2 separate regions of the Homo sapiens genome follow, and region 1 is linked to region 2. The links are contacts of gene promoters, found by promoter capture Hi-C in blood cells and fetal thymus (Javierre and others, 2016). All regions are on one chromosome and are shown on one strand. The core of a region is centred on a gene start or on the middle of the fragment in contact, and the rest is flanking DNA. Distances in the headings are between cores, read along the strand shown. Region 1 overlaps FMN1 (formin 1). Region 2 holds the start of GREM1 (gremlin 1, DAN family BMP antagonist).

Region 1 (5,799 bases), core at 831-3,330, 120 kb after region 2:
CGGTGTCAGTAAGTAAAATCTTCTGGTGGGGAAGTATTTTGAATATTTGCAAAGAAAGTTCAATGCTCTCCAAAGTGGAGGTAGAAACTGGCACCAGGGATTTCTGTGTACCTGCCTAGAAATACAGGGCTTTAATCTACAGCCAATGTGAACTTTTGTAACTCTTTAAAACATCATCATTTCTGAGGGACTTCAGACTCTGTTCTGTAGGTCAGCACCAGACCAACAATATAGAGTTCCTGTGATCACTTATGATTTGAAACATAAACTCAGGCTTTGAATGTTTTAAAAACACCCGTATAACTATGGGTTGTTTAAAAATAGCTATACCCCAAAGAGTTTATTTCCAACATCTGACATGAATGCATTTTGCAGCGATTTGTTATGCAAATAATGGTAGCAGGGAAGACATATGAAAAAACATTGACCCTTCTCAAAGCCCGATGGATTTAATGCTTTTGTTAATTCTGAATTCCAAGTCTAGGGGTTGTCTGTTTGTGGTGTATAAAATAAAATACTATATGCCTGCCTCAACTTTCCTTCTGATGAAGCTGTAATTTGCAAAGGAGCTATTGTTCCTCTATGGCTTCCCTAATTTTTCTTCACAGACAACTGTGCTTCAGTGTGGAGAGGGGTTTCAGTGTATTGGCTGTTGAGATGATGCTGTGAGTATTTTCAAGGCAGAGGGGGCTGGGTGCGGTGGCTCACACCTGTAATCCCAGCACTTTGGGAGGCCGAGGCGGGCAGATCATGAAGTCAGGAGATCAAGATCATCTTGGCCAACATGGTGAAACCCTGTCTCTACTAAAATACAAAAAATTAGCCAGACATGGTGGTGAGTGCCTGTAATCCCAGCTACTTGGGAGACTGAGGCAGGGGAATCGCTTGAACCCGGGAGGTGGAGGTTGCAGTGAGCTGAGATCGCGCCACTGCACTCCAGCCAGCAGAAGGAAGAGCTTTTTGAGATGGAGACTCAGGTAGTGCTTGGAATTGCTGATAATCCAAGGCCTGATGATACGGGGGTTATTTGCTGAAGCTTCTATTTCAACTCTCCTTTATGACCCCGGGTTACCTAAATATGTTGCCTTCTAATGTTGTTTTGTGAGAGGTAGGAAGTAGGGTAGACATCATCAGTCTTAGATTTGTCAATGGGAGAAAACCAAGGGACAGACTTTTTTGCCGCCATTTTGTCCTTCTAAAGTGTTAGCTCCTTTTTCCCACTTTACAACTCCTCCTTTCTCCCCTCCTCCTCTGCTCTGCTCTTCTCCACCGCCACCACTCCCAGCAGCTGTTTATTAAATGCCCACTGCATGCTAGCTTTCTAATTTCTTCTTGTCTCTAATGGTCATATTTTAGGATGTCATTCCTCTACTGACAGCTACCACTTCTAGAGTAATCCTAACCTGTAATTCTTTTCTTAGAGGATAAGTAGAAAATACGTAATGGGAGGTGGGGGGAAATGGTTTTGATCTTCAATTAGTGTAACTGATAGGGAGGAAAGGGCTTGGGTTAAGGGAATGTCTTATGAAGCAGCAGCTGTTTTATAAGGGACTCATCTGGAGAAGTGGGGTGTATCCTCTACTGATAAGGGAGAAGACCCACAGAAAGCCAACTAGCATCAAAACAGCCCCAGCATCCAAGCACAGAGGAAGTGAGCCTTCTGACCCCCATGATCTAATAAGCCCCAATATTAGTCCATACAGGAGATGAGCAACATCCCAGGGTGAGTGAGTCAGTCACTCAAGTCCCCGGCCCAAAAGTGTAATGGACTTTGTTTTATGGTTTAATGGACATTTAGCTGAGTTAAAAGGGTTAACAAGTCTGAACACTTCTCTGAAACCTGATGAGATATCCAAGCATCTTTTTTCTGAAGGTCTCCATTGAAAATACCACTTATGAGTAACTTCTGTAAAGAAAACCCATCTGAAAATACCAGAGATGAACCAGCTGCTTTTTTCCCCCTGAACTCTTAGCAAATGATCTAAGGGCTTAAACACATTAAAGGCCACAATTTCAACTTCTGGAATCAATAGGGCAAAGGAATGTGGGCATATTCATTTAAATATGAATTTGCTGACTCCATTCTTACTCTCTTGGGTTCCTCCATAAGCCCAGACCTTACACTAAAAGGCAGCTACTTCTCACACTGCAGCAGGATTTTGAGAACCATCGCCCTTTGTCATCTTCACCCTGACCCTTCTCATCATTTTTTCTGATTCTCAGAACCTCCTGGCATTTATTTCCAATTCAGTTCTGTTTCCTTTCACCAACTCAGGTTAGTTGAGGCTGGACCCTAGCATGCCTGTTTTGTCATACTCTGATGAAAAGCAAATTAAATTCTTGGATGGTAAACTCTTTTCTTAAACTTCTGTCTGGTTCTTTGGAAAAAAATTAAAAATTATATTTCTGTTAATATCAACCAAAATATTGAATCCATCTCAGGATCCTACATCCCTTGACCAACAAGCTGATAAAACTGCCTAGCTCATCTTAGTCAACCTCTTCCTCTCACATGGTGTGTGGAACAGAACTTGGTCTCCCTTGGGCTTCAGTAGTAGCAAATTGAGGAAGTAAGACCTTAATTACATATAACCATGTTTCCACCCTACGTTAGCTCTGTTCCCTTGCCCTTTCACATTTCAAGCTGCCTCAAGGAGGAAAAAATCAGACAGATAAAACACAAACAAAAGACAGAAAACAGGAGCTCAAGGGCTAAATCAAGACTATTAATAGTTCCTCCAAACAAAGAAACCGACTGCCATCATCCAAGCTCTGTTCATCTAATTCTTCCTTTCTCCAAATGTGGCTGAAACTCATCTCCCTTTTAGCCTTCTCTTACTCCCACCGTTATTATTTTCAGCAATTTTTCCCTAAGACAAGGCAGCAGCAGCAAGAAGTGAGAAAATAAAGGTAATCTAGGTAGTACCTTTCTTTGAACAAATAGTTTTCCATCTTTTTCTTATTTCCACTGATCTTGAAAACAGAATCACTGTTTAAAGGGGAGAAGCCCTAGTTCCCTCTGATCACCTTGGTTAATTTTAGAATGGGTGCTTCATATTCACCACACAGAGAAATCTAAGGCTTTTATTCAGGTGAACCCTTCAAAATGATAACATTATGACACCAAAGCTTTTAAAAGTCTTGCTGTTCTGAAACTGCCATTGCAGTTTGGCTTTGTGGCTTTGGATACTCTCAGAGGGAAGGCATCACCTTTGTTAGAGTTTGTGAATTTAAATTAGTTTGGGTTTGTTTGGAAGCAGAGCAACATCAGAAAATCCAGTCCCTTTCTACCTAAAAGCACAAGGCTGCTAGTGAGCAGGCCCATGAGGAAGAGCTGGAGGAGAGGGCAGGACACAGGGATGTCACCCAGCCTAGCTGGGATACGTGTCAGGCCTGACCACGTAATCACAGATACTCATGAACAAGGGAAAGCAGACTATTCAGATACAATGAAAACTGATTTTAAATAAGAGGCATCTCTTATTTTATTATTTTTTCTAAATCGTGGCTCTAAAAAAATAAACTTAGAATTATTTTCCTCTTCCAAAGTGAAATATCTTTTTCTTCCTGGCTTAGACCACCAACCAGGTTTCTGCTGCCGGAAGCCGGGAAAATACTGGATATTCTTTGAGGAAGCCTGATCAGATGCCCTATTATCCCAATTTCCAAACCAAAGATGCTTGGAGATGAAGACACACTTTTTTGGTGTGTGTTCTAAGTTGCAACCTCAAAAACTTGGCAGTTTTCTCACCATGGACTGTGATTTCCATGATGTGATGGTTTGGAAGGGTTTGTTTTCAAATAGATGTTATGGGGTGATTCCAAGGGAATTCTATTTCAATCCTCCTGAGTTGACAACCTTTCCTTCTTAAGTGTAACTTTGGTGTTCAGATAACCTTGGGACACAGACAAGGAAGATTCCCAGTGGTAAATGTCTGTGTGGTACAAAATGGGAAGGCAGAAAGTGAAGCTTGTAAAGTCATGAAAATAAGAAAGAAAGAGCTTTTCATGCATTATCTTTCACACTGTTCTTCTTTTTCTGTTTTTATTTTATTATTATTATTTTTTTGAGACAGGTTCTCACTCTGTTACCCAGGCCGGAGTGCAGTGGCATGATCATGGCTCGCTGCAGCCTCAATCTTCTGGGCTCAAGTGTTCCTCCCACCTCAGCCTCTCTGTACCTGGGACTACAGATGCATGCTATCATGGCCCAGCCAGTTTTTAAAATTTTTTGTAGGATGTGGCCTCCCTATGTTGCCCAGGCTCGTCTTGAACTCCTGGCCTCAGGTGATCCTCCCACTTTAGCCTCCCAAAGTCCTGAGATTACAGGTGTGAGCGACTGCTCACAGCTGGGATTACAAGGCTGCTCACTAGCAGCCTTGTGCTTTTAGGAAGAAAGGGACTAGATTTCTGATGTAGCTCTGCTTCCAAACAAACCCAAACTCATTCAAATTCACAAACTCTAAAAGGTGATGCCTTCCCTCTGAGAATGTCCAAAGTCACAAAGCCAACTGCATGGCGGTTTGGGAATGGCAAAACTTTTAAAAGCTTTTGGTATCATAATTTACTTTTATTTAGGAGGATAGTATAGTTCACATTTTCTCCTTTTTCACAGGTTCTATTTAGTGTCATTTATAGTAGCAATAATTCATATTCTAACTTAGCTTTACCTCAGCAACTCTTTCTCCCCTTACTTTTAGTCTCAGTACTACAAATGCCCGCATGCTTTCTCCCCAGAACCGAGGCCTTCATATTTTTCTCCCTAAGCTGTATATGTCTTACAAACTTGTAAAATGAATGTAAATGAATGTAAAACTTTCCCCTTGTTTGGTGAAGAACAAGAGGATACACCCATTGCTTGAGCATACATCTCCCTCAGTCTCTCTCTTTTTTTTTAGAATGCAAAGTATTTTCTTTTTAAACTTTTAAAATCTGAAAACAAGCTAGCCTATGTTAAATAACATAGTTTCCAAAGCTGAACGTGCTCACTTGGAGCCCAGTTTTCTGCTTCAAATACAAACACAACTTCCTGACACTCCTAGGTGGGAACACTACTGTTTGACGATCTGTGATTAGATGAACTGATCGATCTCAGTGGGTAACATTCCTTTATTTTTTCCTTGGTAAAGGTTTAAAAATTCTAAAATAGATGCATTTTTTTTTTTTCAGTTTTACACTGACAATTTCATTCCAATTGTCTCCTGGGAGACACAGACCATGTACAGGAATCCATCTTCATCCTTCTCACTCTGCTACAATGCTGTGTCTGTTCACCGCCAGGAGGAAGGCTTGATTAGCACTGAGCTGGAAGGACCTTCTAATGATCTTGATGAGCTCACTCAGGTTGATGTGGTCCAGTACAAGGAACATTGCTTTATCCAGGACGGGAAGCTGCTTCTCAGCCTTGTATCGTTCTGTTACTACCAAGATTTTGGGTGGATGCTGCTCTCGGAGAAGTCAAACTTCTACTCTTTGTTCAAAGGTGTGGTGTGGCCTGAAGGTCTTCTCTGATGTCATGGTGCAGGGATCTGGGTGGTGGTGGCGACATAAGGGTTCTGGCGGCTCCTGGGGGTGGCGGTGGCAGTGAATCTAACTCTGGCGACAGTGACTTCTCTTGTCTCCCTCAGTCTCTTTATTATATGCTTGATCCATCAGAAAGTCTCAAGGTTCTATGCACCTCAGCAACCCCAGTGATAAGGCAAGGGGTTCATGGACTGAGTCCTGAAGCCCTCTTGTGTTTAGAGATTGGGAAGATGAAGAACCAGCTTAGGAGATTGAGGAATGCCCATGAAGTAGAGA
Region 2 (6,611 bases), core at 2,376-4,875:
TATATCATTCTGCAGCTTCCTTTTTTTTTTAAAAAAAAGCATCTCTATGTTTTGAGCTCTATGTTAAAATATAAAAATCTAATCAATTTCTTTTATTAGCTATGTAGCATTTTGCCATATGAATAAAATAATTTCTTATGCCTTCTCCTATATTTGTTGATGGACATTAAGATTGTTACAAACAATACCTTGATAAACATGCTTATACAAGTTTCTAGTCCTCATACACACGTTCAAATTTTTCTAAGGTGTTTACCTAGAAGTGTAATGTCTGGGTGGCATACTAAGTGCATGTTTAATATTAATGCAAATTGACAAATTACTTTCTGAAATGATGGTACTAATTTACCCTCTCACTAGCAATGCATTTGCTTGCTTGCTTCTCTCTACCTTTTCCATTGCTGGATATTGTCAGACTTTTAGATCTTTGGTAACTTTGTAGATAAGCAACAGTATCTTCTCATTTCAGTTTATATTTCTCTGATTTACTGGTGTAATGTTGCATCTTTTTATATTTACTGGCTGTCCAGGTTTCTTTTTTGTGAATTACCTGCCCATGTGCTTTGGCCATGTGCAATTTTTTTTTCCTATTGGGTTATTTGTGGGGATTTTTTTCTTACTAACTTATAAGAAAAATTCATTCTGAATATGATCCATTTAACTGGTATTTGACTCTTGTAAATATGTTTTTACTTAATCATTATCAAGTTTATAGGTTAATACTTTTTTTCTTTAGAAAGGGCATACAAGGTCAGTTCCAACTGTGTAAAGGGCTTTATTCTTTTTTAATCCTATGCAAGACAGCATACGTAGTCTCTGCAATTGGATGAACAGCTGTAAATAGCTTTTGCAGATCTAAGTAAAAACTCTTCTCTAAAGGTCTTCAAAGTTATTCTCCAAACCTGGGGAGTAGCCCTCTTTTAGCTTCTTGGGGTTACAGAGAGGCTAGCACATTCCAAACACAGGTGGGCAAAAAAAGAGGAAATGGACTTTACTTTTACGAACCAGTGGCTGAGCAGAATCTACTCTTCTCACAACCTCAAAGTAGTTTGAAAGTACTTTCATTAAATAAAATTAATCATTTAGTGATCGTGGTTTAGGCATCATGGTTTAGGCATGACTACATCGAGTCATTCTACTTCTTCTCCCCTTACTAAAAGCAGGTTTTAGTTATGTAACCATGTTTAGAGCGGTCTAGGGAGTTTTTATCCTTATGCCTTCCTCCTGATTGGACAATGGTTTGCAAGAACTTGTTAGGAGCTGTGGAAACACAAATATTGGGCAAAAAACTTGTGTTTCTATATAAATATTTACAAACATACTAGACTATAAATTCTTTGAGGTGAGGGCCTGTGTTTATCCTATCCACGATGGTTATACCCTCAGCATTTGGTTCAGCTGACAATCTTAGTGGGAATGTGCTCAACATTCTCAATCCACAACTATTTATTGAATCTGAGTGCTGTGTTAGACAATCTATATTCTATGTGCTTCATGTAATCAAAGTGACCTAGACAAAATCCCTGCCCTTATGAACCTTACATTCTAGTGGCAGGAAATACTATAATGCCAGGGAGAAGGGAGAGAGAAATGAGAATGAAGAAAAATGATGCAGTGATGCATAGCCCTCTCTATCTCTTTGGGATACAGAGAGGGGGCGTGTGTTGTGGGGAGGAGGTGGGGGCTCTATTATAAAAAATATGGCCTGAGAAACTGCATGAGGAAGAGTCATCATGATTTGATACATGGAGATAGAGAAAACCACAGTGTCAGGGCTCCAAAAAAAAAAAATCACTTCCATTTTGGGAGGTAATTTCAGCTTCTTTGTATTTGATTTGGGGCAGTATATAAGTCTTGGGAAAAAAAGAAGTGACTAAAGCTTTTATTTTAGATGAGGAGGACTTAATGAATTTGTAAAATATGCTCCCTTTTGTGGGGAGAAGTACAGCAGTTTGCACGTTGGGAGAACAGCTGGCTCCAATACAGCTTGGTGGTGGGCTTCGACTGAACTGGTCATCGCCTAAGTATTTTGTGTATTTCTGATTACCTATCTCTCCAGGAGCCCACGTGAGCAAGACAGGTCTTCAAGCTGGTTCAATGCTCCCATTCTGTAGGCAACTACAAACTGTGGCTCACTGCATGACTTAACAACAACTGATTGAGAATTGTAAAGTGCAGCCTCGAGTTCATGTGTAGAAACTGCCATCTGCACAAACAAAACATTGAGAGGACTAAGATTTTAAGGATACTAATGCAGACGTCCTTCTTGCTTCATTTATTTAAAAATATCTATTTCACGTTCCTAACAGCATCTAGTAGATGTTTCTTGCTTCTTCCCCCTAACGCCGGACTAAAGAGAAAAAAAAAATAGGCTGTTTTCTGGTCTGGTTTTGTTTTCCTAGTCAAGTACTTAAATTACGGGTGTTTCGTAAGTATCTTTTGATGGATTTCATTGTTTTGTTTATTTCGCGTTAGACAATACAGACACCTTCATATTTCCTTCTGTAGCAAATCTTTTTCAAAGTCTTCATTTGACGTGGCTGATGGAGCTGGTCTGCAGATCTTGCAGACGTGTTAATTTTTGCACGGACTTTAGCTTCAACACACAAAACTTACGGCCTCTTTGAGGAACCAATTTTTCAGGCTAAGAGAACAAATGAAAGTGTTCGCTCATCTTTCGAAAACTATTTATGTACTTGGTATCCGGAATGTGACATTGGTTTTACACGTCGGTAGGTTTTTGTCCTAAATTTCTGGGAAGTTACTTCCTCATCTAACGTTTTATTTTCCTGACTTATTCGTCTTTGATATGCTACAGAAAACCCCTCTCGCCCAGTGGCTGTTTTCTCTCTGTCTCTTAAGATAATTTAGGAACAGAAGCCTTGACTTTTGACGGTCATTTAGTTTTATTCTCCTCCCGTGACTCCCCTCTGTACACTCACAGGGGAGGCCGCCGGCATCTGGGCTGAAAGAACCCTTGGCGGGCGAGGAGAGCAGGGTGTCATGTTGGCGACAGGCTCCTGCTGGCGGCCAGCGAGCCCGCCAGGTTAACGGGGGCGCCGGGGTCAGCGCCCTCGAAGTTGGGGGCCTCGGGCGGGGCCGCCGGGGAGCCACGACGGCCGCTCGACCAGAGCATCCCGCAGTCCCGTTCCCTCCAGAGGGGAAGAATGGCCGAATCTGGCACGATCCCACGGAGATCTCGCTCTTCCCAGCGCAGTCTCCGCTACTGAGCGCGGGACCAACGCAGGCGATGCCGGGCGGCCGACAGGGAAAGCCCAGACCTGGGGCAGAGAAGGAATGAGGGGCCGCCAGCCGGGGGGATTTCCTCCCGCTCTTCCCTCTCCAACGGGAGCGGAAAATGTGATTTGCTGTGCATTCCAGGCGCGGTTCCCTGGGGTGACCTCTCCCAGCCGGCCCGGGCGGGGGGAGCAGACAAAGAGGCGAGGCGGGCGGAGAGGGGACCCCGCGGGGAAGCAGGAGGGGTGCGGGGGGCGGGGGCAGTACCGGGAAAGGGGGCGGATAGCGGGTCTGGCGGCGGCGGCGGCGCCTGGCCAATGGAGAGGCGCGGCCCCGGGCGCCGCGCTCTGCCGCCGGCATTTAAACGGGAGACGGCGCGATGCCTGGCACTCGGTGCGCCTTCCGCGGACCGGGCGACCCAGTGCACGGCCGCCGCGTCACTCTCGGTCCCGCTGACCCCGCGCCGAGCCCCGGCGGCTCTGGCCGCGGCCGCACTCAGCGCCACGCGTCGAAAGCGCAGGCCCCGAGGACCCGCCGCACTGACAGGTGAGCGCGGACGCACCCGGCAGGGATGTGAGTGGGCGGAGGGAAGAGGGCCGCAAACCAACCCAGGACCCGCTCAGTTCCACGCGCGGCAGCCCTCCGTGCGCGCAGGCTCGGGTGCGTTGTTCGCGGGGGTGAATTGTGAAGAACCATCGCGGGGTCCTTCCTGCTGAGGCCGCGGACACCGTGACCTCGCTGCTCTGGGTCTGCAGGGAAACGTAGGAAAAAAAGTTGTCAGGAGCGGGCAGGATGACCCCCACATCCCGTTTCCACCTCCCGGAGGCCCCCGAACACGCTCCTGGTGCTGGTGGCAGCAGCGCCTGGCAGACGCGCCCGCTTAGCGAGGGCGCGAAGTCCAGGCCGCCAGAGCGCAGGAGCATCCGGACCTGCTAGTCGGCCGCTGACTGCGCGGCGAGTTGCCTTGAGAGGGTCCCATGTGCTTGGGGCGCCGCGCTGGGTCTGGGGGCGTCTTGGGGCGCCCATTGGAGTCCGCGGGTTGGAGCATCCGGAGAATCCATGATGTGTGCATTTGCCGATCCCCGAGGTGAGATGGAGACTGGCAAGGGCAGAGCCGCTGTGTTCAGCCACAGCGGAAAACCGAACGGTGGGTAATCCGACAGCTGCGGTGCGGGGCGCGGCCCTGGCCGCGGGGTCCAGCGAACCCGCAGTGCTCACAAGGCAGACACCACACGCGCTCGCGGACCGGCCACGCACTCGCGGGCGCTCGCTTCTCTACTCCAGCCTCTTCCCCGCCCCGCGCACGCCCGGGCTGAATGGTAGACGTTCTGGCGCCGGGCAGCGGCCACCGGCTGGTTCCCACTTCCGCGCGCACCCCTTAAACTGTGTTCTAGAGGCCCCAGCCTCGCCTTGCAGCGCCTCACTAGCTCCTGAGGACTAGGGACTGGCGGCTGAGGCGGGTTGGCGGCTGCAACGAGCTGGGCGTCTTTCGTTCTCTCTCGCTGCCTGGCTGGCTCCGCTGGCCCCTCCACAGCTTGCGGAGCAAGGCCATAGCAGGGGAGTGGGAGGTATATTGGGGCTGTCACCTCCTTGCTGGCCGGAGTTATTTGTAGACTACAGACTCCGGAAGAACAGACGCGCCACCGCTCTCGCTTGGCATTGCCTTCGGATCGCAGCTCCTCCTTGGGGGTGCCCCAGCTTGGCGTTTATTTGCCTGCGCCAGGCTCTGGCGACGGTCACCGGGCCAGGCGGGGAGGGACGGACGGCAGGTGACCAGCCTCTGCTGTGAAGAAATTCCTGCGCGCCCGGAGCTGTCCCTAATGCATTCCCGGGTCGAATCCGTCTACTGCCTTCCCCTCCTCGACCGACTCCGAATCTCGGCTCTTATAGACAGAAATACAGCCTCAGCGTTAGGGGTTAAAATCCCCCTCTTAAACGGTCCGAGGGCAGAGAGGTGACCACCGATAGGTAATTGGATCTCCTGCTGGAAAGAGCAAATCTGAGCGGTGTGCGCGTCTGTTTATGTTCCCCTTCGAGATGGTGCCAGGACACGAACTGATTAAAACAATCTATTGTGTTAAGTGGGTCACTAGGGTTTTAAGCTGTCCCAGGGACCCCAGAGTAGTGGCTTCCTTCTGGCTGTACACACAAGTTAAATAAATAGCGTAGAAGAGGTTAAGATAACCCCATTCTAGGGTGAGGAGTCCTCTTTCATCCCTAGGGCTTCCCCCTCCCCTTTTCTCTTTTTTTGGAAGGAGGGGGAGCATGAGAGTCTTGAGGGGGGGATGTACTTTTCAAAGCAAGGAGGGAAAGATCTTAAGAAAACTATATATTCTCACTGCCCCCCAAGCCAAGTCTATAACAGTAGGTGATTTGATTACTATCTCTGGATAAATGGCACTGTCAAATTGTTAATATTAACTATTTCAGGGATTTTTAGCAGGGTAGTGGCAGTATGTGTGCGTGTGTGTGTGTGTGTCTGTGTGTGTGTGTTTAACCTCCAGGTCATTGTAGGAATTAGAGTCTTTTGTAAACTTTGTAATTTCACAGGTTTCCTATTTTCTTAAAAGTTCATTTTTAGTGAAATGTTTTGGTAACCCACGCTCTGTAGGAAATCCAGGTTGGCTAATGCGGTCTTTATGTGAGTAGTTACACAGGGAAGGATAAAAACCTTTTATGTCCTACATCTCTGAATGAGGGCTGCCTACCCTGTCTTTGAAACTAAGCCGAAGATGCCTTCAGTCTGAATGGTCAAGTATTAAAAGTGATAAAATGCAAAGAAATTTCATGCCGCAGACACCTCCCCCAAGAACTGCTTGTTGACAGCAAAGCTGTGGAACATGTTCCACAACAGAGAGTAAAGGACAGCCAGGAAATATAAACCTTTTATGTAAAGGAAAGGCAGGTGGGGGACAGTGGTTAGGGGAGGTGACTGCAGCCTCTAACCAAAAGGCAACCATCAGGCAAGTGCTACCAGCCCGTGTCTTCGATCTGCAAGGAATTTTCTTTAGTTTTAACATATGCTCTTAGAAATTCAAAGTACAACAGGAATTCCTGGGACAAGAGAAATCTTTTTATTCACATGTGAACATGAAGATACAAAATAGATAATTATTTTATTTATAGCACTCTTCAAATTGTATTGCATTAGAAAACATATCCATTGACCCACTGTTAAGGACAGCACTGGGTGTCAATAGGACAGTGGTTAAGGACCTGTGTTTGGGGCTAGATAGAATTGGGTTTAAACTGCTGGCTGGGCTAGGCACAGTGGCTCACACCGGTAATCCCAGCACTTTGGGAGGCCAAGGAGGACGGATCACCTGAGGTCGGGAGTTCGACACCAGCCTGACCAACATGGAAAAATCCCGTCT

What was found. The method cuts DNA at HindIII sites, captures the fragments that hold promoters and counts their contacts. A CHiCAGO score of 5 or more calls a contact.
Region 1: a fragment that was not itself captured here is called in contact with the fragment with the promoter of GREM1 in region 2 in 3 of 17 cell types (M1 macrophages, M0 macrophages and M2 macrophages); the score reaches 7.1 in M1 macrophages.

The regions. Positions count from the first base shown.
Region 1 is chr15:32,831,810-32,837,608 of GRCh38, forward strand. The region is part of intron 17 of FMN1 (formin 1); the gene reads right to left. It also overlaps the pseudogene LOC107984761. Among named protein-coding and RNA genes, the nearest start is that of GREM1-AS1, 120 kb to the left of the region's middle. The HindIII fragment of the contact is 2,093 bases long and covers 1,035-3,127 here.
Region 2 is chr15:32,714,379-32,720,989 of GRCh38, forward strand. It overlaps GREM1 (gremlin 1, DAN family BMP antagonist), which reads left to right and starts at 3,626. Exons shown (of 2, transcript NM_013372.7): 1 at 3,626-3,783. It overlaps GREM1-AS1 (GREM1 antisense RNA 1), which reads right to left and starts at 4,487. Exons shown (of 2, transcript NR_109767.1): 1 at 4,167-4,487; 2 at 3,723-3,986. RefSeq lists enhancers at 3,132-3,632, 3,770-4,348, 4,349-4,926. The HindIII fragment of the contact is 6,086 bases long and covers 1,878-6,611 here.